3 separate regions of the Homo sapiens genome follow, and all the other regions are linked to region 3. Evidence: promoter capture Hi-C in 16 types of primary human blood cells and fetal thymus (Javierre and others, 2016). All regions are on one chromosome and are shown on one strand. The core of a region is centred on a gene start or on the middle of the fragment in contact, and the rest is flanking DNA. Distances in the headings are between cores, read along the strand shown. Region 1 overlaps NFRKB (nuclear factor related to kappaB binding protein). Region 2 overlaps NFRKB (nuclear factor related to kappaB binding protein). Region 3 holds the start of ST14 (ST14 transmembrane serine protease matriptase).

Evidence for each region. Contacts are between HindIII fragments. The CHiCAGO score rates a contact against its expected background, and 5 or more counts as called.
Region 1: a fragment that was not itself captured here is called in contact with the fragment with the promoter of ST14 in region 3 in 1 of 17 cell types (erythroblasts); the score reaches 7.1 in erythroblasts.
Region 2: a contact is called between a fragment that was not itself captured here and the fragment with the promoter of ST14 in region 3, in 3 of 17 cell types (naive B cells, neutrophils and erythroblasts). The highest score is 5.9, in naive B cells.

What each region holds. Positions count from the first base shown.
Region 1 is chr11:129,865,122-129,868,320 of GRCh38, reverse strand. It overlaps NFRKB (nuclear factor related to kappaB binding protein), which reads left to right. Exons shown (of 27, transcript NM_001143835.2): 25 at 2,338-2,444. Among named protein-coding and RNA genes, the nearest start is that of NFRKB, 29 kb to the left of the region's middle. The HindIII fragment of the contact is 4,836 bases long and covers 1-3,199 here.
Region 2 is chr11:129,885,814-129,888,887 of GRCh38, reverse strand. It overlaps NFRKB (nuclear factor related to kappaB binding protein), which reads left to right. Exons shown (of 27, transcript NM_001143835.2): 4 at 93-294; 5 at 2,444-2,571. Among named protein-coding and RNA genes, the nearest start is that of NFRKB, 8.2 kb to the left of the region's middle. The HindIII fragment of the contact is 2,731 bases long and covers 287-3,017 here.
Region 3 is chr11:130,158,201-130,161,616 of GRCh38, reverse strand. It overlaps ST14 (ST14 transmembrane serine protease matriptase), which reads right to left and starts at 1,835. Exons shown (of 19, transcript NM_021978.4): 1 at 1,557-1,835. The coding sequence starts at 1,637. RefSeq lists an enhancer at 100-599 and silencers at 1,687-1,756, 1,837-1,956. The HindIII fragment of the contact is 2,113 bases long and covers 385-2,497 here.

The DNA of each region.
Region 1 (3,199 bases), core at 18-2,517, 290 kb after region 3:
TGTGCTCCCTGGTGAGTAAATCTTTGCCACTTTCCTTTTGAGGTATTTGGCATTTTCATATTGTTTGAGGTGGCTTTTTATAACATCCAGAAGATACGGAATCTGTGGATGTGAATTCTTTATATACATAGAAAATATTTTTTTCCAGTCTGTCATCTTTTAACCTTATATATGGAGTCTTTTGCTCTACAGATCTTTATAATTGTATCTAATTAGATCTATCAGCATTTCCTTTAATGGTTTCTAGGTTTCGTGTCTGTGTCTTCCTTACCCCAGGATCATAAAATACCTTGAGTTTTAAAAAAAAAAAGTATAATTGTTAATGCATTTGAAATATATTTTTGTGAATAGGATGAAGTAGAAATCTCACTTCCTAGTTTTCAAATTTGCCAAAATAATCAACTATTGCTTCCCCCACTAGCTTGAAAGGCTGCATTTATCATAAACCAAATCCCCATATCCCCACACAGGTGTCTGTGGATGCATGTGTGTTTACTCTTCAGCCTCTAGGTAAGGAGCATTGTTCAGAAGAGGGGTGTGTATGGACAGTATAAAATACAGTTTCGCTTTACTGAGCAAGCTATATAGGGAAGCCTTCATAAATTGGGATAAAAGCCAGAGCAGTGAAGAAGGATATAAACATAAGTCAAATGAATACCCAAAACAGAAAATCTTAACATAGTGTGGTTAAAAAAGAAATAGTTGGTCAGGCGCAGTGTCTCACACCTGTAATCCCAGCACTTTGGGAGGCCGAGGTGGGCAGATCACCTGAGGTCAGGAGTTCGAGACCAGCCTGGCCAACATGGTGAAACCCCGTCCCTACCAGAAATAGAAAAATTAGCCGGGCGTGGTGGTGGGCACCAGTAATCCCAGCTACTCAGGGGGCTGAGGCAGGATAATCATTTGAACCCGGGTTGCAGTGAGCCAAGATCGTGCCATTGCACTCCAGCCTGGATGGCAGAGCAAGACTCTGTCTCAAAAAAAAAAAAAAAAAAAAAGAGTTACTTAGGTTTCTGCATCATAGAAGTTGAAATAAGGAAGCGGGAAACTGCACTCACTTGATCCACTTTTGTTTCTTTTGAATCCCTCTAACAGAAAGGTTATATCAAGTGTCATCTGTCCTGTTATAATCAACCTGGGTAGGTGCAACTGGAGAGCATTTGGTGGGGCAGGAAGTATTGATGGTGCTTACTTCCCCCTGTCTAGTCAGCTTTTTGGTAGTTCCTGAAGGGATCATTCTAGGCAGTGTACTGGTCTGAGATGTTTTAAGCAACAAAGGCATTTTGAGGAAGAACAAAACCATAAGTAAATGTATCTGGAGGTACCATCTCAAGGTATTCTGTTGCCTGTTGCCCTCTTTGCATGCTTTTTTAACAGGCTCCAGGCTGTGGGTGAACCCCATGGAGATAGGTGCGGGGACCTGCCGCGCAGTTGTGCAGCTGAGTGCCCATCTCCTTAGTGTTAGCCTGCCTCTGTGGAATGCTGATGCCCTCTCCCAGCATCCTGTCAGCCAGCCCTCTTGAATTTTTTAAAACTCAGATTTAATTTACATAAGATTTCACTGCATAGAAATTTTATTACCAGTCAAGCATTAAAATCAAGGCCATCTGAAAACAGGTAATGCAGTGACCTATCTTAACCATCCTGAAGTCCCAAAGACTCTAGGCCTTCTCAGTTTCTAAAAAAAATTCTTCTTAGGCTTTATTAGCTTGGGGGTTGGACTTTTCACTTGATTGAGTTTATTGTTAGTGTCCCCTAGCTAACCTCTCTTATCTCCGGGAGAAATGGAAAGCACCGGAGAGCATGGCCTCTCCCTAATCTAGCATGCCCTGCTGTTTGTTCCTCACCAGTGGCCCTGCACTCCAATGAGTAGTTGTGCGCTTTAGGTATTAACTCTTGAGCTCCTCTGTCCTTCCTCAAATTTATTTCACCAAATAGTGATTGTGTGCCCAGCACTGTGCCATGTACTGAGGGATACAGAGATAAGCCTCTGTCCTCCAAGGAACTCAGAATCTTGGACTGTGCTAAAGTGAGGACACACCTGCCTTTGTGATTTAGATACAGGTTTTATCCTGTTGAAAGCAGATAGATGGGTTGCTGCTGCTTCTGGTGGCATGAAAGAGGATGATAAAAGATCAGATTTCACCTGACTATGGTATATAAGTAGTTCGTTAGGGTTTTCTGGGCCCAAACCTCAGGAGCCTTGAGACCCTGGTGGGTACTGGGGACTGACAGCATCTGTAGTGCTTGCTTCTCAGTTCCTGATGCCCTGGAGGTGACACTTGCTGGTTTTCCTTACCTCCTGTCTTACAAAACCTGACTGCTTTTTTTTTCTAGGGGAAGTTGCCTACACGGATCACAGTTCCCCTCTCTGTGATCAGCCAGCCAATGAAGGGCAAGAGCGTGGTCACAGCCCCCATCATCAAAGGCAACCTTGGAGCCAAGTAAGTACTATGTCATGGTAAAGGAACCAATTCGGGGGTGGAGGTGGCAGGCAGGGCTTACCAGTCCTTGTCACCGAGTGGCAAAGTGGCTGGTCTTTCTGGGGCCCTTCTTTGACACCTCTGCTTTATTGTGCTCATCAACAGTATTTATTGAGCATCCAGTATTGTTTTAGGTGCAGTGATTAAAACAGATGAAAATCCCTGCTGTTCTCCAAGCATACATTGTAAAGTAGAGAAATAATAAAAAAGCAACATGCGTGGTGATACATACTGGAGAGAAAAGGGTGTGGGAAGTGCTAGGATGGGGCTCAGCTAGGTGTGAGGGAAGCCTCCCTTTGACATTTGAGCTCTGAACCTAAGCAGTTCAGGGAATGAGGGCCACCTGTGGCCTTAATTTAAACAGGGATAAAGGGCACGATGAAATGAGTCTGCAGTCTCAGGGCAGCTTGTGAGATGTGGCTATTAGGGGGAGCGTTTCTTGCAGAAGTGCACACCTCTCTGGGGCCCTGTCCACTATTCCTGCTGGTCGGGGCCAGGAGCCAAGGGCCATTTTATCCAGAGCACTGGGGTCTTCTGGGATTACTGTCTTCTCCTGCCATGGGAAGTGGTGAAGCTGGAAGAAAGGTGGTCTCAGCAGTTGGTTTCCATTTCAATCTGAAATGCTGGGATTTTCATTGGCACAGACCTCCCTGTTGTCCTTCAATACATGGCCTAAATCTGGGCCAGAGAATACCTGTCGATATCATTATATCTCA
Region 2 (3,074 bases), core at 403-2,902, 270 kb after region 3:
CTTATGTATATTATGTAATGTTTTGTATACGCATACATACAAAAAACTCAAAAATTTATTTTACTTTTGTTTACTTTTCCTATTTCTCCTAGCCTGAGATCTTCTTTGATGTTGTCAGCCTCTCAACATGGCAGGAAGTGTTAAGTGATTCTCAACGTGAACACCTCCAGCAGTTTCTGCCCCAGTTTCCTGAAGACAGTGCTGAGCAGCAGAATGAACTCATCTTAGCCTTGTTCAGTGGGGAGAACTTCCGCTTTGGAAACCCTCTGCACATTGCCCAGAAGCTTTTCCGAGGTTTGTAGCTCAGTATTCTTTCTTTGAGGGGGGTGGTGGATGGGCACACGTTCACTTTATGTGGGTATTCCTTTCTTCCTTTTCTTCTTTTTATCTTCATGTACAGATACTGAGGCAGCAAAGAGCGGTTTTGTGTAACACTTTGCTGTCTAGGCTGTGTTCTAAAAAACAAAAATGTATTGACTTATATAGAAAATACATAATATGAATTCAGCTTGTAACCAGCATCAGCTTGTAACCAGCATCTACATAAAAAAATAAAACATTTCCAGCATACTAGAGGTGCCCTTCATGTCTGGTCTTTAAAAAATTTTAAAAAGAGCTTGCCATTTGCTTTATTGCACGTATCAAGGTTCGTGTGTGTGTGTGTTTAGGTACACACACACTTTTTGCTGCAGAAAATATGACACTTCACTGCCAAGCACTTCAGCATGTCCATGTCTCTTAACAGACACTTTCCCATATCATCACCGCCCTGTTACCACACTCAAGGAATTTTACATTGAGCAGATAATATCATAGGCTATTTCATGTTCAAATTTTCTTTTCTTTTCTTTGGGACAGAGTCTCGCTGTGTCGCCCAGGCTGGAGTGCAGTGGCGCAATCTCAGCTCACTGCAAACTCTGCCTCCCGCGTTCACGCCATTCTCCTGCCTCAGCCTCCCTAGTAGCTGGGACTACAGGCGCCCGCCACCACGCCTGGCTAATTTTTTGTGTTTTTAGTAGAGACAGGGTTTCACTGTGTTAACCAGGATGGTCTCGATCTCCTGACCTCGTGATCTGCCCGCCTCGGCCTCCCAAAGTGCTGGGATCACAGGCGTGAGCCACCGCACCCGGCCTTCATGTTCAAATTCTCTTGATTGTTCCTGCAATGTCCTTTAGAGTAGCTGTGTAAATCCAGGATCTGTTCAGGGTTCATGCATTGTGCTTGGGCCTTACGTCTCTTTAGCTTTTTGAATCTAGGTAGGGCGCTTTGCCCCTTTTGTTTTTGTCTTTCAGTACACGAAGAGCCAGGACACTTGAATTATAAAATGTCCTGCTTCTTGGGAATTTGTCATTTTGTTTTCTCATGGTTAGATTGGGTTAAAGGCTTTCGGCAGGAATATGATATAGGAAATGTGGTCTTTCCCATTGTGTCACCTCAGGAGGCACATGGTATCAGGTTTTCCATTTTGGTAAAGCCACATTTGCTCACTTGGTTAAGGGGTGTCTGCGGTACCTCTTGCTTGTAAGGATACTTTATTCCTTTATCATTAAGAAGCAGTGTGGGATGATACTTTGGGATCATGGATCATGTGATAGTCTCATTTTCCAAAAGCCTTTGTCTTACCCAGTAGTTTCTGCTTCCATGGGTGATTCTCAACTGCATCAGTTACTATATTGGGGGTTGCAAAATGCTTTGGGCCACTCTTTAAGTTACAGTTTGCTTTCTGGACCATGGAGAGGAGCCAAGGAAGCCTCTTCCTCTTCCCTTCCAGGGTGACTTTGTTCTGGCACAAGGCCCTGAATGGGCAGCACATCTGGAATTCTGTTAAACTTGACAACTTGACAGCTGCTAATGACCAGAGAGAGTAGCCTTTTCACCTGAAATCGCATTATATTAAGGGTGTAAAATGAACATTCCCTTCTTTGGTGGGTTACTAGTGTAAAAAGGAATTCCCCTCTATGGTTGGCAGAGATCTGTTTCACTACAGCTGAGGGTGCACTGTCTCCTCTGATAGAGCAGAAGTTGGGGACCCACTTGGCTTTAGAGGGGCTCTGTAAGGGACCTTCCATAAAGGTAGCACTGTCTCTTTTGCTGGCATGTTTCCCCCGAAACAGTATGGTCGTCTGGTAAGGATACAGATGAGGAATGTCAAGGCAGGACTTCCTGCATATTCCACTCTGACCCATGCCATGTGTCAGTTCTAGTGCTGCTGAAGACAGTTGCATTACTGTGGCTGTGATGATCATCAGCCTTAAATGAGCTGTCATTGCTTCTCAGCACGCTTTTACTTTTGGTTCTCCTTCTTGATTCTCTTAAATGTTCACTTTTCCCTTAAGTTTTGTGGTACAGAGTTTACCATGTTAAGCACTCATTCAATATATTTGTTGACTGATGATGTATATTTGTTGATTGATGTAAATATATATACCTTTATTTTTTTAAGACGGACACTTTAACCCCGAGGTGGTCAAGTACCGGCAGTTATGCTTCAAGTCACAGTACAAGCGCTACCTCAACTCCCAGCAGCAGTATTTCCATCGGCTGCTGAAGCAAATTCTTGCTTCCCGGAGTGTAAGTAGTGCTGGGAACTGGATATAAAATGTGGGCAGTCACAGGTATCATGACTTCAAGAAGCAATTCAGGTGCAAAACACAAAAATTGCCACGAAGAAAAAAATGCTACCAATTAATCTGTGACACAGTTAAGCTATGCCATCCTTTCTTATGATAAACTTCAAATGTGTCCTGATTTCAGAGATGTTAAAACATAAAATGTGCTTCTTAAAATTGATGAAATTATAGTAGCTTCAGTGTTTACGAAGATAAACAGATGGATTTTGGATCTATCATGGGTTATTAAGGGAAACGAGGATTCCTTGGAATGGATATGAAAGTGTGCATGGGCCTCTGAATGCTGTGATGGATGGTAGCATAACAGGCCCAATAGCCCCTGGGTCTGGACCAGCCTGGAAATTCTTAGAGGCAAAGCTGTTTGGATTTTAAGTCATCCTTTAAGCTTTGGTGTAGAAATACTTGAATGTCTAGTATAAAAAAGTATTCATTCCTAGTAGAGCA
Region 3 (3,416 bases), core at 586-3,085:
AGACAAGTCCGCTGAATGTGGGATCCTGGGGGTGAGTGGAAGGTGAGCCCCAGCCTGGCTGCTTGTCAGGTGGTGAGATGGCTCAGAGAGGAGGCTGGACCACACGACCAGGAAGACCCTGCTTTCCCCGTGTGGGCAGGAGAGTCCTAGAAAGGGAAGTCAGGGAGAACAAACTTGGGGTGGGGGCACCGGACTGCCCTGAAATAACAAATTCCAAACAGCAGGTTCTCTGCTGAAGAGGCAGGGAGTCTAGAACCCCAAGTAGGCAATTAGCAAGGACACAAACATAGCAATTACAGCAAGGAAGAGAAGGTGAATCTGCCTCACAGCAGGGCACAGGCACAGCCAGGGGAAGGGCCCAAGCCTTCAGGTCCACTGGAAGCTTTCCTCCTTGCTGAGGGTGAAAAGTGGAGAAAATAGCAGAGCCCAGCCCCAGGTCCTGTCTGTGGTGCAGGCAGCCTCCAAAGCCCCAGCGTCTGATTTTCTGCAAGCTCCCTAGGTCGGGATGCTGCTTGGACAAAAGGAATTGATCTGAGACAGCACCAAAATCAGGCCTGACTTAGGGAGCAACGGCGGAGACTATGGAGCCCAGGGGCACCCGGAAGGAGGGGAGAAAGTGAGGGTTGGCAGGGCAGGGAGGCCATCATTTGCAGAGGAGCAAAACTCTCTGCCACACAGCCCCTGCCTCTCAGCGCCGCCCTGACCTGGTATGCCCTGGCCTTCCAGGAAACCTGGGGGTCTGCCTTGGACAGAGAGGGTAGAGACCTGGCTGCTGGTCCCGCCCGGGCACTACCACCTAGGTGGGTCCGTCAATGAAGTGACTAGCGACCCATCCCCAACTCCATACAGGAACATGTAATCTTTTTGAGATCTTTCAATAGGTCTTTCATTGTTCTTTCTGCCAAAGAAGAGCTTCCTGTTTCGGTACTTCGCAAAAGGCTCAAGACATGTGTGTTCCCACATCCCTTCCCATACAGCCGCCTTCCCAAAGGGCTCCATCCCCTCTCGAGAAGCCCAGGCAAGCCCAACTCTGGAGTTCTTAGCTCCAGCCCGTATGGCAGCCAAAGCCCTGGCCTCCCAGTTGTCCTCTGCGAGGTCCCAAAGCGCCTTTTGACGGGGAAGGAGAGAGACGAAAGAAACTTTCTGCAGAGGCCAAGGATGGCTGAGACTCCAAACCCTCCTGAAATTTCACTTCCTCCCAAATAACCCCACTCCAAGCCCCTGGTTTCTTCCAGATGTTCACTAACAGCGCGAGAGTCATGGAGGGGCCGAGACGGAGCCCCTTTTTTCAACTCAGGGAAAGAAAGGACCGAGGGCGCAGGAAGGCCCAGGGGCTTCCCGCCTCCCCCTGGCGGGGCGCAGCCGGTCCGGTACCAAAGGTCCGGCCAGCCCCGCCCGCCCGCGGCCCGGCACCCGCTGAACAGGAAATTCCACCTGTGCGCCCAGAGCTCGGCCACCGACGGACACGCCAGGGGAGCCGGCCGAGCCCAGCGCCGCGCTGCAGGGTCGGGCGGGCAGGAGCTTCCCAGCGCCCCGGGTCCCCGGCCCGCGCTCACCTCGTGCCGGGAGTTGTACTTGAGTCCCGCGCCGAAGTCCTTCGGGCCCCCTCCGCCCTTGCGGGCCCGATCGCTCCCCATGGTCCCCGAGGCCGCTCGCGGGTCTCACAGGCGTCGTCCCTGCCGGCGGCCGGCTCCCATGGCCCGCAGGGCGCGGGGCGCGGGGCGCAGGCGGCGGGATTCCGGGCAGGCCCAGCGCGCCCGACCGGCGGCGGTGCCCTCGCCCTGGCGCGCTCTCTCTCCCTCTTCCTCTTTCTCCGGCTGCAGCTCCGCTCTCACACTCCGGCCCGGCCCACGCAGGTAGTTTCAGGGTGTGGCCTCGGCCCGCCCAGCCCGCCGCGCTCGCCTGCGCACCTGCCCGGCTCACCTGCCCGCCCCCGCCGGCCCTGGGGGAGGCTCCTCCCCTCGGCTCTGGGCCTGAAGGTGAGGGGGCCTCACTCGGGTGGTGGTCGCTAAGGCCCTCACCATCACCACGACGGCGTTCACCACCCCTCCGGCCCTCCAGGGGCCCTGCCCCGGGAGGGCAGCCCTTTATCCACCTCCTTGATGCCAACCATCTTTTCCCTCCTCCCTCATGCGCCTCCGGTCTCTCCCCTTCACCTTGCTCACTTTGCTACAGGACTAAATCGCATTTATGAACCCCCCAAAACCAAACAGAAACCAGAACCGCCCCTGGCCCAGGCTCCCCGTCGGCTACGCAGCCTCCTGTTCTCCAGGCGGGAGGCGCTTGCTGGCCTGCGCCCGGCTACCCTGGGGAGGCCCAGTGACATGAGCTGTGCCACCAGATGCCCTCTGAGCCATCCCAACGCCCCTCGCCCACTTGCAGCATCTGATGCTTCCTCAAATGCCCCCTTTCCCTGGATTCCGGTCCTCCTTTCTAGTCCTAAATGTCATGATTCCCAAAGTTCTCCCTTCAGTTTCATCCCTTTCTTCTCTAAGCTTTTTCTCTTGGCAGCACGTCTCATCTTACGACTTCAGACAGGAAGACCTCCCTCCCAGCACAGACACCACCAAGGAGTGCCAGTTCTGCCTTAGCGGTCGCCTGGGGACGTCTCCATTTATGTTCTACTGTATTCTGTAGCCAATGAACATTACCAAGCACACACTAGGCGCTAAGCACTGTCCTGGGTACAGGGAAACAGGAGTGAACAAAATAAAAATCCCTGCTTTGAGATCAACAAGCCCCATCTTCCTTCCCTGACTTGCCCATTTTCCACTGTTTTCTCTAATTCTAATGGCAGCATTCTCCCAGGCTCAAATCCTGGAATCATCTTTGATTCTCCACCCTGCTTACATCTCATATCCAATTAGTTCCAAATCTGATCAAGACTCTGCTGACAAGCATAGCCCTTCCATTCCTGCGCATTAGAAGACCGCTATTCGAGTCCTCAGAGCCCTTTGCCTGGTTAAGAAAGATCTCCTGCCTCTGGGCTGCCACCCTCTGATCTCTCCTACACAAAGCAGTCAGGTAAATCTGAAACCACAGCTCCTTTATGACTTTCCGTGTCTCCCGGATCAAATCCAACCTCCTTAGCCCAGCTTCACACTCTGCCCTGTCCTCCCTTAACACCGTGCCTCCAAGCATTCCTGTTTGGAGCCCCTCTCTCCAGCCAGGCGTTCTGATCTTGGCAGCTTTCATAAAGCTTTTCATCCCCTGGAAGCTCTTCTCCTTCATACTCCTTCCGCATATTGGGTCGAAGACACCGATGGGGTTTTTTAGTGTTGTTCATTGAATGTTTTTAGCTCTCTGCCTTCTGGGCACAGGCCAGGGTGTTACTCTCTCTTCTCTGAAGTTAGGTATGGCAGTATGGCTAGCGGTAACCAAGAAAATGTCCAATGAGAGGACACACCACTTGTACA